Regions from separate parts of the Homo sapiens genome. Here regions 2 and 3 are each linked to region 1. The links are contacts of gene promoters, found by promoter capture Hi-C in human tissues and cell types (Jung and others, 2019). All regions are on one chromosome and are shown on one strand. The core of a region is centred on a gene start or on the middle of the fragment in contact, and the rest is flanking DNA. Distances in the headings are between cores, read along the strand shown. Region 1 holds the start of DCAKD (dephospho-CoA kinase domain containing). Region 2 holds the start of ADAM11 (ADAM metallopeptidase domain 11). Region 3 has its middle 11 kb from the start of FZD2.

Region 1 (3,823 bases), core at 260-2,759:
CCAGGCTGGAGTGCAGTGACCGGATCTTGGGCTCACTGCAACCTCCACCTCCCGGGTTCAAGCAATCCTCCTGCCTCAGCCTCCCGTGTAGCTGGGATTACAGGCATTCACCACCACGCCCGGCTAATTTTGTATTTTTAGTAGAGACGGGATTTTGCCATGTTGGCCAGGCTGGTCTCAAACTCCTGACCTCAGGTGATCCACCCGCCTTGGCCTCCCAAAGTGCTGGGATTACAGGCGTGAGCCACAGCGCCCGGCCTAGATGCTTTATTTTTTTTGAGGCAAGGTCTCGTTTTGTTGCCCAGGCTGGAGTGCAGTGGTACCATCATGGCTCTCTGCAGCCTTGACCTCCTGGGCTCAAGCCATCCTCCTGCCTCAGCCTCCCGAGTAAATGAGACCACACTGTCACCATGCCTGGCTAGTTTGTTTTTTGTTTTTTTTTTTTGTAGAGATCGGGGGTTAGTCTCACTCTTGTTTAGGCTGGTCTCGAACTCCTGGGCTCAAGTGATCCTCCCAAAGTGCTGAGATTACAGGTGTGAGCCACCGTGCCCGGCTTTTATGTATTCTTTCAACAACGCTGCACGGCTGCGATTATCCCCACTTTGAGAGGAGACAGGATGAGAGGCTGAGTGGCTTGCTAGGCTTGTATGGACAGGATGCGGGCTCTGCAATCACATGACTTTGTATGAGAGGGCAAATGGATTAACCGCTAAACATAGTTTCCTGTTGTGTAAAATGGGGATGATGATAGTATCCACCCTGCGGACTGTGCGGGCTGAGATAATCCCACAAAGTGCTCTTAGGACCTGGCAGGTGGAAAGTGCTCATGATCACCTCTGCCAAGGCTGCACAAGTAGCGAGTGGCCGAGCTTTATATCCGAAGTTAGGACCCTGCAGTTTTGCCCCTCTCCTCTCTCTCCCTCTCCTTCCCGGCTCCGGGGAAAGGAAAATTTATGGCTCCGGGTCGGGGGTTGCGGGGGACCTCTGTGCCGTGCTCCGGGGCCGAGCTCTCCCCGCCGGCCTCTCCCGCGTCCGTCCGGCCGCCCTCCCGCCCAACCTCTCCCGCCCAACCTCTCCCGCGTCCGCCCGCCCGCCCAACCTCTCCCGCGTCCGCCCGCCCGCCCAACCTCTCCCGCGTCCGCCCGCCCGCCCAACCTCTCCCGCGTCCGCCCGCCCGCCCAACCTCTCCCGCGTCCGCCCGCCCGCCCAACCTCTCCCGCGTCCGCCCGCCCGCCCAACCTCTCCCGCGTCCGCCCGCCCGCCCAACCTCTCCCGGCCCCGCCCGCCCGCCCGCCCAACCTCTCCCGGCCCCGCCCGCCCGCCCGCCCAACCTCTCCCGGCCCCGCCCGCCCGCCCGCCCAACCTCTCCCGGCCCCGCCCGCCCGCCCGCCCAACCTCTCCCGGCCCCGCCCGCCCACCCAACCTCTCCCGGCCCCGCCCGTCCAACCTCTCCCGGCCCCGCCTGCTGGCCGGACGTCCGGTCTGCAGGCGCGCGCTCCCGAGGTCCCGCCTCGCCCGCTGAGCCGGCCTGTAAGCGCTGCGGAGATTGGGCTAGAGGCGGAGGCCTGGGCCACGGCGGAGGCGCTGGGTACGTAGCGCGCCACGCGGGCCGGTGAGAGCCAGCCGGGCGCCGGGGAGGGGGCGGGCCCTGGCCGCGGCTGCTACGCGGGGCTGCCACCGCCCCGGGCGACCCAATTTCGCGGCCTAGTGGGGCGTACGGGCCTCTTTTGAAAGCCTGAGTTACGATGTATTGAGCGCGTCGTATGCGGCCAGCACTAAGGCAAGTGCTTTTATATCCACGGCCCATTGTCTTGACAGCAACCCTACCAAGCAACGTGTTATTTCCTCTGTTTTACGGCTGAGGACGCGCAGGAAGGTTTACAGCTAGAAAGGGCTGGAGATTGTGGATTCAAACTCAGGATCAGACCAAAGCCACTGCCCTTTAGAACTTTGCGGGCCGATTGATTCTTGAATCTAGCTTCTGCCACTTCAGTTGTGTGACCTTGGGGTATCTTTCCGATCCCAAGTTTGCTCATCTGAAAAATGGGAATAAAGCTACAGTATCTGTCCCATAGGGTGGGTATAAAGTGCTTTACTGTTGAGCTGAGTGATCATCTCCGATTTTCAGACCCCTCTCCTCCGCTTCCCTCTCCCCTGGGAGGCCAGTTAAGGTTTTAGTGAAGGCCCCCGGGACTGGGGCGGCGTGGATCTCACGCCCACCAACTAGTGAGGGAGGCCATCCGGCCACCCGTCTCTTCCTTCCCCAGCTCCGCAAAGGAGGCGTTGGCATTTCAGGTGTTTGCTTACAGAGTTTTCAAAGATTTTTCACTCTCCCTTAGTTGTGGGAAAATGATTCAACCTACCCAAGTGAACTTTGACATTAAGTCTCAATTCTAACGGTGAGGAAATGGAAGCCTTTGAATATGTTTTATGTCTTAAACGTGTTTGTTTTTGCAGGAGGGAGAGTGCTCATTTTACCTGAATAAATCAAGATTGAGTTGGTGTGGCACAGTGCTGGCATAGGCCTGGGGAAAGGGGTGAAATGCTAGAGATCTGGTAGATGGATAGAAAGTGGACAGACGGGTTCGGGTGGTTTTTGTCTCAGCAGGGCCCTAAATTCCCACCAAATCCTCCTCTGTCTGTCTTCACCAAGGTCTGAATCTGTCCCCTTGGTAAATAACGTTTAAATGGTCTCCGAGCCCCTCTTGGTGCCTGTACCTTAAGGAGAGAAGAAGAGGGCTGATAGCTGAAGGCAGGCAAGCCACGAACTTAGCTTTGTTTTGAAAATTACCCTCTGGGCCGGGCACGGTGGCTCACGCCTGTAATCCCAGCGCTTTGGTAGGTTGAGGAGGGTGGATCACCCGAGGTTAGGAGTTCGAGACCAGCCTGGTCAACATGGTGAAACCCCCGTGTCAACTAAAAATGCAAAAAAATTAGCCGGACATGGTGGTGCATGCCTGTAGTCCCAGCTACTCGGGAGGCTGAGGCAGAAAAATCGCTTGAACCCGGGAGGCTGAGGTTGCAGTGAGCCGAGATCGTGCCACTGCACTCCAGCCTGGGCAAGAGAGTGAGACTCCTTCTCAAAAGAAAGAAAGAAAGAAAAAATTACCTGCTGGGAGGCCGAGCGCGGTGGCTCACGCCTGGTAATCCCAGTATTTTGGGAGGCTGAGGCAGGCAGATCACCTGAGGTCAGGAGTTTGAGACCAGCCTGGCCAACATGGTGAAACTCCATCTCTACTAAAAATACAAAAAAATTAGCTGGGTGTGGTGGCGGGTGCCTGCAATCCCAGCTACTCAGGAGGTCGAGGTAGGAGAATCACTTGAACTCAGGAAGCAGAGGTTGCAGTGAGCTGAGATCGTGCCACTGCACTCCAGCCTGGGTGACAAGAGCAAGACTCTGTTTCAAAAAAAAAAAAAAAAAAAAAAAGGAAAAGAAAAAGAAAATTACCTGCTGGCACAGTTTTAGATTGATAGCTTTAGATTGAAACTTTCACATTTTTATTTTGAAGATTACAGAGGATAAAAGTTCTGGTTAATTGTGAATGTTGATATTTTAAAATAAAGCTGTTAAAATCCTCATTTAAACCTGCAGTGAAGTCTAAATATACACCATTTGATTTGATTTCCCTCATCTTTTGAAAAAAAAAAAAAGAACCACTTTTTATTTAACCATCGAAATTTCAAATCGTTCTTTTTTTCCTTTATTTTTTCCGAGATGGGATCTTGCTCTGTTGCTCAAGCTGGAGTGCAGTGGCAGTCACTGGTTACTGCACCCTTGACCTGCTGAGCTCAATCCTCCCACCTTAGCCACCAAAGTAACTAA
Region 2 (3,789 bases), core at 137-2,636, 290 kb after region 1:
TCTGGGCACTGTGTGGAAACTGAGGCAGGAGCAAGCACTAAGTTGTTCCAAGAAAGCCCACTAAGGTGGCTGTGGTGAGAACCTGAGAGCCCTAATCCCTGACTGGAATCTGGGCTGCCTCTCCCTGCCCCCAACTTGCCCCATCCAAGCCCTGTTTTGAACAGAACAACTAGCTTTGGCCAGAGCAGAGCAGGGGGCCATTGGAAGGCTGACCCAAAGCAGACCTGAGACCTAGGCATTAGTGGTCCCTGTACACTGAGGGCAGGGGACCCTACAATAATGGAAGGGGGCCCTGGGGCTGGGCAGGCCTGGTGCTCCCCACCAGTGGGCTCCAGCACCCACCGGATAGCCCACTGTACAGAAGGGGACCCTGCGGGGCAGCTGCTGAGGGGGACTCCAACCCTGGTTACCCCGTGGGCTTCCTGGGGCTCTGAGGCCTGCTTCAGCCCCTGGCCTCACCACCCAGCCCCACTCACCGGGCCCCCTGGTGGCTCCTGGCGGACCCTTGTGTCCAGCTGCTGCTTTCGGACCTCTCCCCCGGAGCTCTCCCTAACCAGACGGCTGGGTTCCGTGACCTCAGGGGCTCCTGGGCCTCCCAGCTGGGGTAAGCCCCCCCATCGCAGAGCTCCAGCAGGACCTTGGGTCCCAAGACCTGGGGAAACAAGGCCATGGCTGCAGGCAGCTGCCCACCCTGGGGCAGAAGACTTGGGAATGGGGTGGGCATGCCTCATCCCCCACTCTGGTGTGGCCCCTGGAGCCCTAGGGCGATCCGGGTGGGAGGATCTGGCTGCCCTGCAGAGGCAAGAGCCCGCGGGGAGGGGGCCAGGAGCTTCACTCCCGCCCAACCGTCACGACTGCCCCCCCATCCGCCCAAACCCGCAGAGACCTGCAGAGCTGGCCGGTCGGCGGCAGGGGCAGGGACGCGGTGGGCCCGGCCAGCTGGGGACAGGTGGGTGGACGCACCTTCCCTCCTCTCCCGCTCCCCTACCCTCCCGCGCTCCGGACCGGCTGTCACCCCGAGCACTGCAGGAAAAGGTGGCTGCAGCAGCAAGCGCCGCACATCCCGGGGCGGGGGCAGGGAGGGGGCGCCGGGGCCGGGCGGGGGTCACTCACCGGGCGTGGGGAGCAGCGACAGCAGCAGAGCCGCGAACGCCCAGCGCCGCAGCAGCCTCATGGCTCGCTCATTCCTCCCGGTCCGGGGGCTGCGGCTGCCAGCGGCGCGGGGAGGGCGGGAGCAGGGACGGGGGTGGGGAGGCGCCAGCTGCGGAGCCGGGGCGGGGGCGCGGGGCCGGGCGGGGGTCGCGGAGAGGTGGGGGCGGCAGGGACGGCGCCGGGGCTCAGCGCGCTCCGGCCGCGGCCATCCCGGCGGGGCGGCGGGGCCGGGTTAAGAGCTGAGCAGCGAGCACGTGAGCCCAGGGCCCGCCCTCCGCTCTCCCGCCGCCCCCCGGCCCCCCCAGCCCCGCAGGGCCCGGGCCGCCGCCGCGGCAGGACAAAAGAGGCGCCGCCCCGGGGTCCCTCCTCGCACCTCGAAGTCTCCTCGGCAGGTGCGGGGCGGTGGCGCTCCGCGTACTTATCCCGCGGCCTCTCCTCGGCCACCTCTGCCTGAGCATCTCCGAGGACTCGTAGATTTGTAGGGGAGGGAAGCAGGGGACGGGGTACCCCCGGGGTCGACCCGGCGACTGCCTGTCTGGGGCCCGGGGGCAGGGGCGTGGCTGCGGCGCCCACGTTCGCCCCTCTGTCGTGGTACCCCAGAGAGGCTGCCCCAGCCCCAGCTTGGAGCGCCCCGCTTGACCCCAGGCTGTGGAAGCTGGGGTTGGGGTGGGCAAAGGCTCTTGGCGAACGCCGGGCTCTACGCCTCTGGGATTTCTTGCACCTTCGCTACGGGTCGTGTCACTGCGGAGTCCTCTCACGCCCGCGGTACAGACCCCTTCCCATCGGCTCCTTCTCCCCGCCAAAGATGCCCCGGCCTCCAGGAGGGCTTCAGGGATCGCTGTCACTCCAACCATCAGGAAGGGCTGGCATGTCCGTCTGGGTTCCTGAGTCTCTCACAGGCGTCCTGTCCTTCCTCCTAGATAAAATATAAACTAGCCAGGTCACTTATATGCTGCTAGCATGCCCCATGGCTCCCCCTCCCTTGCTAGTCCCAATCCTTAGGAGCAGAAGACACCTCTGGAGCCCCCCAGCATTCCCTCTCTGGTCAGACTAGGCTGCCCTGTCTGCAAAATACTTGACCTCCCAACCTACATTCCCAGCTGTGCCCTCCACCCAGCTCCTGGGGATGTTGGGTCCCAATACCAGGGCTGGGACCTCAGACTTCTGCTAGGGGTGCTGAAGGCCAGATACCTGAGATGGTGTGGGGTGTGGTAGGGCATGGTGGGTGGGCCGCTGAGTCCCCACCCTGACCTTTTTGGTACCCATGCTAGGGGACCACAGGTTGCTGAAGAACAAGATTGGAGGCAGGAAACCCCTTCCTGGGTCCTCTGCTTCCGCAAGGACCCAGGGCCTCTGCTGGGGATGAGGGAACTGCCTCTAGCTTGTGACACCCCCACCCCCCGCTCTATTTTAGGCCCAGGAGAGGTGAGAAGGCGATTTCCCAGGAGGCGCTGACATCAATGTAGGGAACCAAGTGACTCCCCCCACCCCCAACCACCTGCCATGCCAGGCCCAGATGCTCAGTAAGGCTGAGCCAATTCTTCCTTCGCTCTGGAGACATCTTGAGAACCTCCTCCAAGATGTAGGCATGAGGAGGCTCCTGGGAATGAGGGCCTACTAGGTGGTATTCCTGGAAACTCATCATGAGCCCAGAGGGAGAGATTGTGCTCCCCATTTTACAGATGGGGAAACTGAGGCTCTGAGAGGTTATGTGAGCTTCTCAAAGTCACACAGCTGGTGAAAGGCACATCCCATACTCCATGGCCCCACTCCTCTTAGCCACCCCTAGTCCTACTTCCATCTCTGCCCTCCATTTGGGACCAGAGGGGACTGGTATATCTGGTCCCATGCACCCTCACCACACACCCCAGACACGAAGGTGGCTGTCCTGCTCCAGCCTGCCCATGTCCCAGGGCCACATCAGCAAGTCCCGATCAGGAGTGCCCCCCAGTAGGCTGGGTGAGGTTTGTCATTTCACAGTGCGAGCCCGGGGCTGGGAGAGTCTGGGTCCTCCAACATGTTCAAGACCACAGAGCAAGCCCAATCTGTGGTCCAGGCCTCTTCACCAGAGGCATGTTCCTACCACATCGGTGGCCCTGGGACCCTAGACTTCCTGTTGGGGAGACCTGATGAGCCCTAAGAGTGACTCTCCCTGGTGGCACCCTGGGCTAGTTCCAGTGGAGACTCGGTCATATGGCTCCCTGGCCCCCATAGCCACTTATATTCCTGGGTTCCCCGGCTCCCAGCAGATCTGGCTAGAACTTACTTTTTTTTTTTTTTTTTTTTTGAGACAGAGTCTGGCTCTGTCGCCCAGGCTGGAGTGCAGTGGCACGATCTCGGCTCACTGCAAGCTCCGCCTCCCGGGTTCACGCCATTCTCCTGCCTCAGCCTCCTGAATAGTTGGGACTACAGGTGCTCGCCACCACGCCCAGCTATTTTTTTTTTTTTTTTGTATTTTTAGTAGCGACGGGGTTTCACATGTTAGCCAGCATGGTCTCGATCTCCTGGCCTCGTGATCCACCCGCCTCGGCCTCCCAAAGTGCTGAGATTACAGGCGTGAGCCACCGCACCCGGCTAGAACTTACTATTTTTTTTTTTTCTTTTGGAGAGTCTCGCTCTGTCACCCAGGCTGGAGTA
Region 3 (3,946 bases), core at 193-2,692, 480 kb after region 1:
TCTGGAATACTGACAATACCAAATGCCGTGGAGGATGTGGAATAACAGAAACCCTCATTCACTGCTGGTGGGAATGTAACACGGTACAACCACTTTGGAAGATAGTTTGGCAGTTTCTTACACCACTAAACATACTTTTACCATACAATCCAGCAATCAAGCACCTTGGTATTTACCCACGTGTTAAAAATTTACGTCTAGGTGGCCGGGCACGGTGGCTCACGCCTGTAATCCCAGCACTTTGGGAGGCGAGATGGGCGGATCACCTGAGGTCAGGAGTTCAAGACCAGCCTGTCCAACATGGTAAAATGCCGTCTCTACTAAAAATACAAAAATTAGCTGGGTGTGGTGGCAGGCACCTGTAATCCCAGCTACCCAGGAGGCTGAGGCAGGACAATCGCTTGAACCCGAGAGGCGGAAGTTGCAGTGAACCTAGATCATGCCACTGCACTCCAGCCTGGGGAAAGAGAGCGAGACTTTGTCTCAAAAAAAAAAAAAATTATGTCTACATAAAAACCTGTACATGGATGTTTACAGCAGCTTTATAATTACCAAAGCTTAGAAGCAACGAAGATGCCCTTCGATAGGTGAATAAACTTACCAGACAGTTCTCCGGGTGGCCTTGGGCCACCCAGTTCTCCGCTTTCTCACTTATAGTATTCAAGAATAACCGTAGATTGTTCTGGGAATGCAGCATCCTGGGATAACGAGGGACTGGACAGCACAGCCTGAGCTCTATTCCAGGCCCTCCTAGAAATAGAATATCCTTTAAAAAAAAAGAAAACAAGAAAGAAATAGGACGTCCTTCAACATTTTAGCCCACCAAGTCCTGTTGTCCCTAGGATACAAAACCCAGGGCAGTTTGCTAGTGAGGTAAGCAAGACATACACACTGACAAGACTCCATTCACCCCAGGCAGCTTTTGTGAGCCTCGGGGGACTGGCTGAGTCCTAGGCTACGCTGTCCCTTGCTGCCTATCTGTAAGTAATACATCTGGTGCGTGTAGCTTATTTGATTGGGGGGGTTTTTCTGTTCCACCCAACTCAAGCAAGTTGGTAGCCAGGGCATAATTAATCTGCTTTGAAAAACTGTGGAATAGCCAGACATTATTCAGTGCTAAAAGGAAACGTGCTATCAAACCACGAAAATGTGTCCAGAATTGGTGGGTTCTTGGTCTCACTGACTTCAAGAATGAAGCCGCAGACCCTCGCGGTAAGTGTTACAGTTCTTAAAGGCGGCGTGTCCAGAGTTTATTCTTTCTGACGTTCGGATGTGTTCAGAGTTTCTTCCTCCTGGTGGGTTCGTGGTCTCACTAGCTCAGGAGTAAAGCTGCAGACTTTCGCAGTGAGTGTTACAGCTCTTAAGTCGACGCATCTGGAGTTGTTCGTTCCTCCCGGTGGGTTCGTGGTCTCGCTGGCTTCAGGAGCAAAGCTGCAGACCTTCCCGGTGAGTGTTACAACTCATAAAAGTAGTGTAGATCCAAAGAACAAACAGCAACAAAATTTATTCCAAAAAGTGAAAGAATAAAGCTTCCTCTCTCCACCCCCCAACCCCCCCCCCCCCCCCCCCCCCGGAGAAATAGGACCCGAGTACATTGCCACTGCTGAGTCGGGGCAGTCTGCTTGCACTGCTGAGTCGGGGCAGTCTGCTTTTATTCTCCTATCTGGCCCCACCCACATCCTGCTGATTGGTCCATTTTACAGAGCGCCGATTGGTCTGTTTTACAGAGAGCTGATTGGTCCATTTTGACAGGGTGCTGATTGGTGCGTTTACAATCCCTGAGCTAGACACAAAAGTTCTCCACGTCCCCACTAGATTAGCTAGACACAGAGTGTCCATTGCTGCATTCACAAACCCTGAGCTAGACACAGCGTGCTGATTGGTGTGTTTACAAACCTTGAGCTAGATACAGAGTGCTGATTGGTGTATCCACAATCCCCCAGCTAGACATAAAAGCTCCCCAAGTCCCCACTAGACTCAGGAGCCCAGCTGGCTTCACCCAGTGGATCCCGCATCGGGGCCACAGGTGGAGCTGCCTGCGGGTCCCGCGCTGTGAACCCACACTCCTCAGCCCTTGGGTGATCGATGGGACTGGGCGCCCTAGAGCAGGGGGCAGCGCTCTCCGGGAGGCTCGGGCCGTGCAGGAGCCCACGGCGTGGGGGAGAGGAAGGGGTGGAGGCTCAGGCATAGTGGGCTGCAGGTCCCGAGCCCTGCCCAGCAGGGAGGCAGCTAAGGCCTGGCGAGAAATCCAGCACAGCAGCTACTGGCCCAGGTGCTAAGCCCCTCACTGCCCGGGGCTTGCGGGCTGGCTGGCCGCTACGAGTGCGGGGCCCGCCGAGCCCACGCCCACCCAGAACTCGCGCTGGCCCCCAAGCGCCCCGTGCAGCCCCAGTTCCTGCCCGCGCCTCTCCCTCCACACCTCCCCGCAAGCTGAGGGAGCCAGCTCCAGCCTTGGGCAGCCCAGGAAGGGGCTCCCACAGTGCAGTGGTGGGCTGAAGGGCTCCTCACGTGCCGCCAAAGTGGGAGCCCAGGCAGAGGAGGCGCCGAGAGTGAGCGAGGGCTGCCAGCAGGCTGTCACCTCTCAAAAACACGTGGAGGAACCTGAAATGCATATTACTAAGTCAAAGAAGCCAATCTGAAAAGGCTACATATAGTATGATTCCAACTCTATGATATTCTAGAAAAGGCAAAACTGTGGAGACAGTAAAAAGATCAGTGGTTGCTAGGGGTTGGTGGGGCTGGGAGGGTTGAATAGGTAGAGCATAGAGGATATTTAGGTCAGCGAAAATAGTCTGTGTGATACTTTAATGTTGTATATATGTCATTATACATTATAGAAAGTACAACACAAGTCCAGGCACGGTGGCTCACACCTGTAATCCTAGCACTCTGGGAGGCCAAGGCAGGCGGATCACTCGAGCTCAGGAGTTCAAAACCAGCCTGGGCAATATGGCAAAACCCTGTCTCTACTAAAAAAACCAAACCAAAACAAAACAAAAAAACCACACACACACACACAAAAATTAGTCAGCTGTGGTGGCACACACCTGTAGTCCTAGCCACTTGGGGGGCTGAGGTGGGAGGATCCCTTGAGCCCAGGAGGTCAAGGCTGCAGTGAGTCGAGATCGTACCACTGCACTGTAGCCTGGGTGACAGAGACCCTGTCTCAAAAACAAACAAACAAGAAAGTAAACCAACAGTGAACCTTAATGTAAACTGTGGACTTTGATTGATAATGATGTGTCAGTGTAGGTTTATCAATTGTAACAAATGTACTCCTTTGGTGGCCGGATGTAGTAGCTCATGCCTGTAATCTCAGCACTTTGGGAGGCTGAGACAAACGGATCATCTGAGGTCAGGAGTTCGTGACCACCCTGGCCAATATGGTAAAACCCTATCTCTACTAAAAATACAAAAATTAGCTAGGCGTGGTAGTGGATGCCTGTAATCCCAGCTACTTGGGAGGCTGAGGCAGGAGAATCGTTTGAACCAGGGAGGCAGAGGTTGCAGTGAGCTAAGATGTGCCACTGCACTCTAGCCTGGGCGACAGAGCGAGACTCCATCTCAAAAAAAAAAAAAAAAAAAAAAGTACTCCTCTGGTGAGGGATGTTGATAATGGGGAAGGTAGGTTATGTATGTGTAGGGACAGGGGTATATGGGAACTCTTGTACCTTCCTCTAAAAAAATTAGTCTAAAAAAAAGCATAAGGACTAAAAGCTGGGTTTGAGCTCCAATTCTGCAATTACCTGTGAGCTTCAGGCAGTGTCTCTCTGGCCTCTGGGCCTCATTTTTCTTTTTCTTTTCTTTGTTTGTTTTTTTTTTTTTTTTTTTGAGACGGAGTCTCATTCTATCACCCAGGCTGGAGTGCGGTGGTGCGATCTTGGCTCACTGCAACCTCCGCTTCCCAGGTTCAAACGATTCTCCTGCCTCAGCCTCCTGAGTAGCT

The links. Contacts are between HindIII fragments. The study calls those that stand out against the background at their distance.
Region 2: a contact is called between the fragment with the promoter of ADAM11 here and the fragment with the promoter of DCAKD in region 1, in 1 of the 25 tissues and cell types used here (heart right ventricle).
Region 3: a fragment that was not itself captured here is called in contact with the fragment with the promoter of DCAKD in region 1 in 1 of the 25 tissues and cell types used here (dorsolateral prefrontal cortex).

The regions. Positions count from the first base shown.
Region 1 is chr17:45,049,318-45,053,140 of GRCh38, reverse strand. DCAKD (dephospho-CoA kinase domain containing) reads left to right here and starts at 1,509. Exons shown (of 5, transcript NM_001288655.2): 1 at 1,509-1,780. RefSeq lists a silencer at 1,369-1,868. The HindIII fragment of the contact is 12,750 bases long and covers 1-3,823 here.
Region 2 is chr17:44,756,585-44,760,373 of GRCh38, reverse strand. It overlaps ADAM11 (ADAM metallopeptidase domain 11), which reads right to left and starts at 1,386. Exons shown (of 27, transcript NM_002390.6): 1 at 1,114-1,386; 2 at 477-652. The coding sequence starts at 1,174. RefSeq lists an enhancer at 1,194-1,745. The HindIII fragment of the contact is 11,776 bases long and covers 1-3,789 here.
Region 3 is chr17:44,566,682-44,570,627 of GRCh38, reverse strand. No RefSeq gene overlaps it. Among named protein-coding and RNA genes, the nearest start is that of FZD2, 11 kb to the right of the region's middle. RefSeq lists a silencer at 3,260-3,460. The HindIII fragment of the contact is 4,266 bases long and covers 1-3,575 here.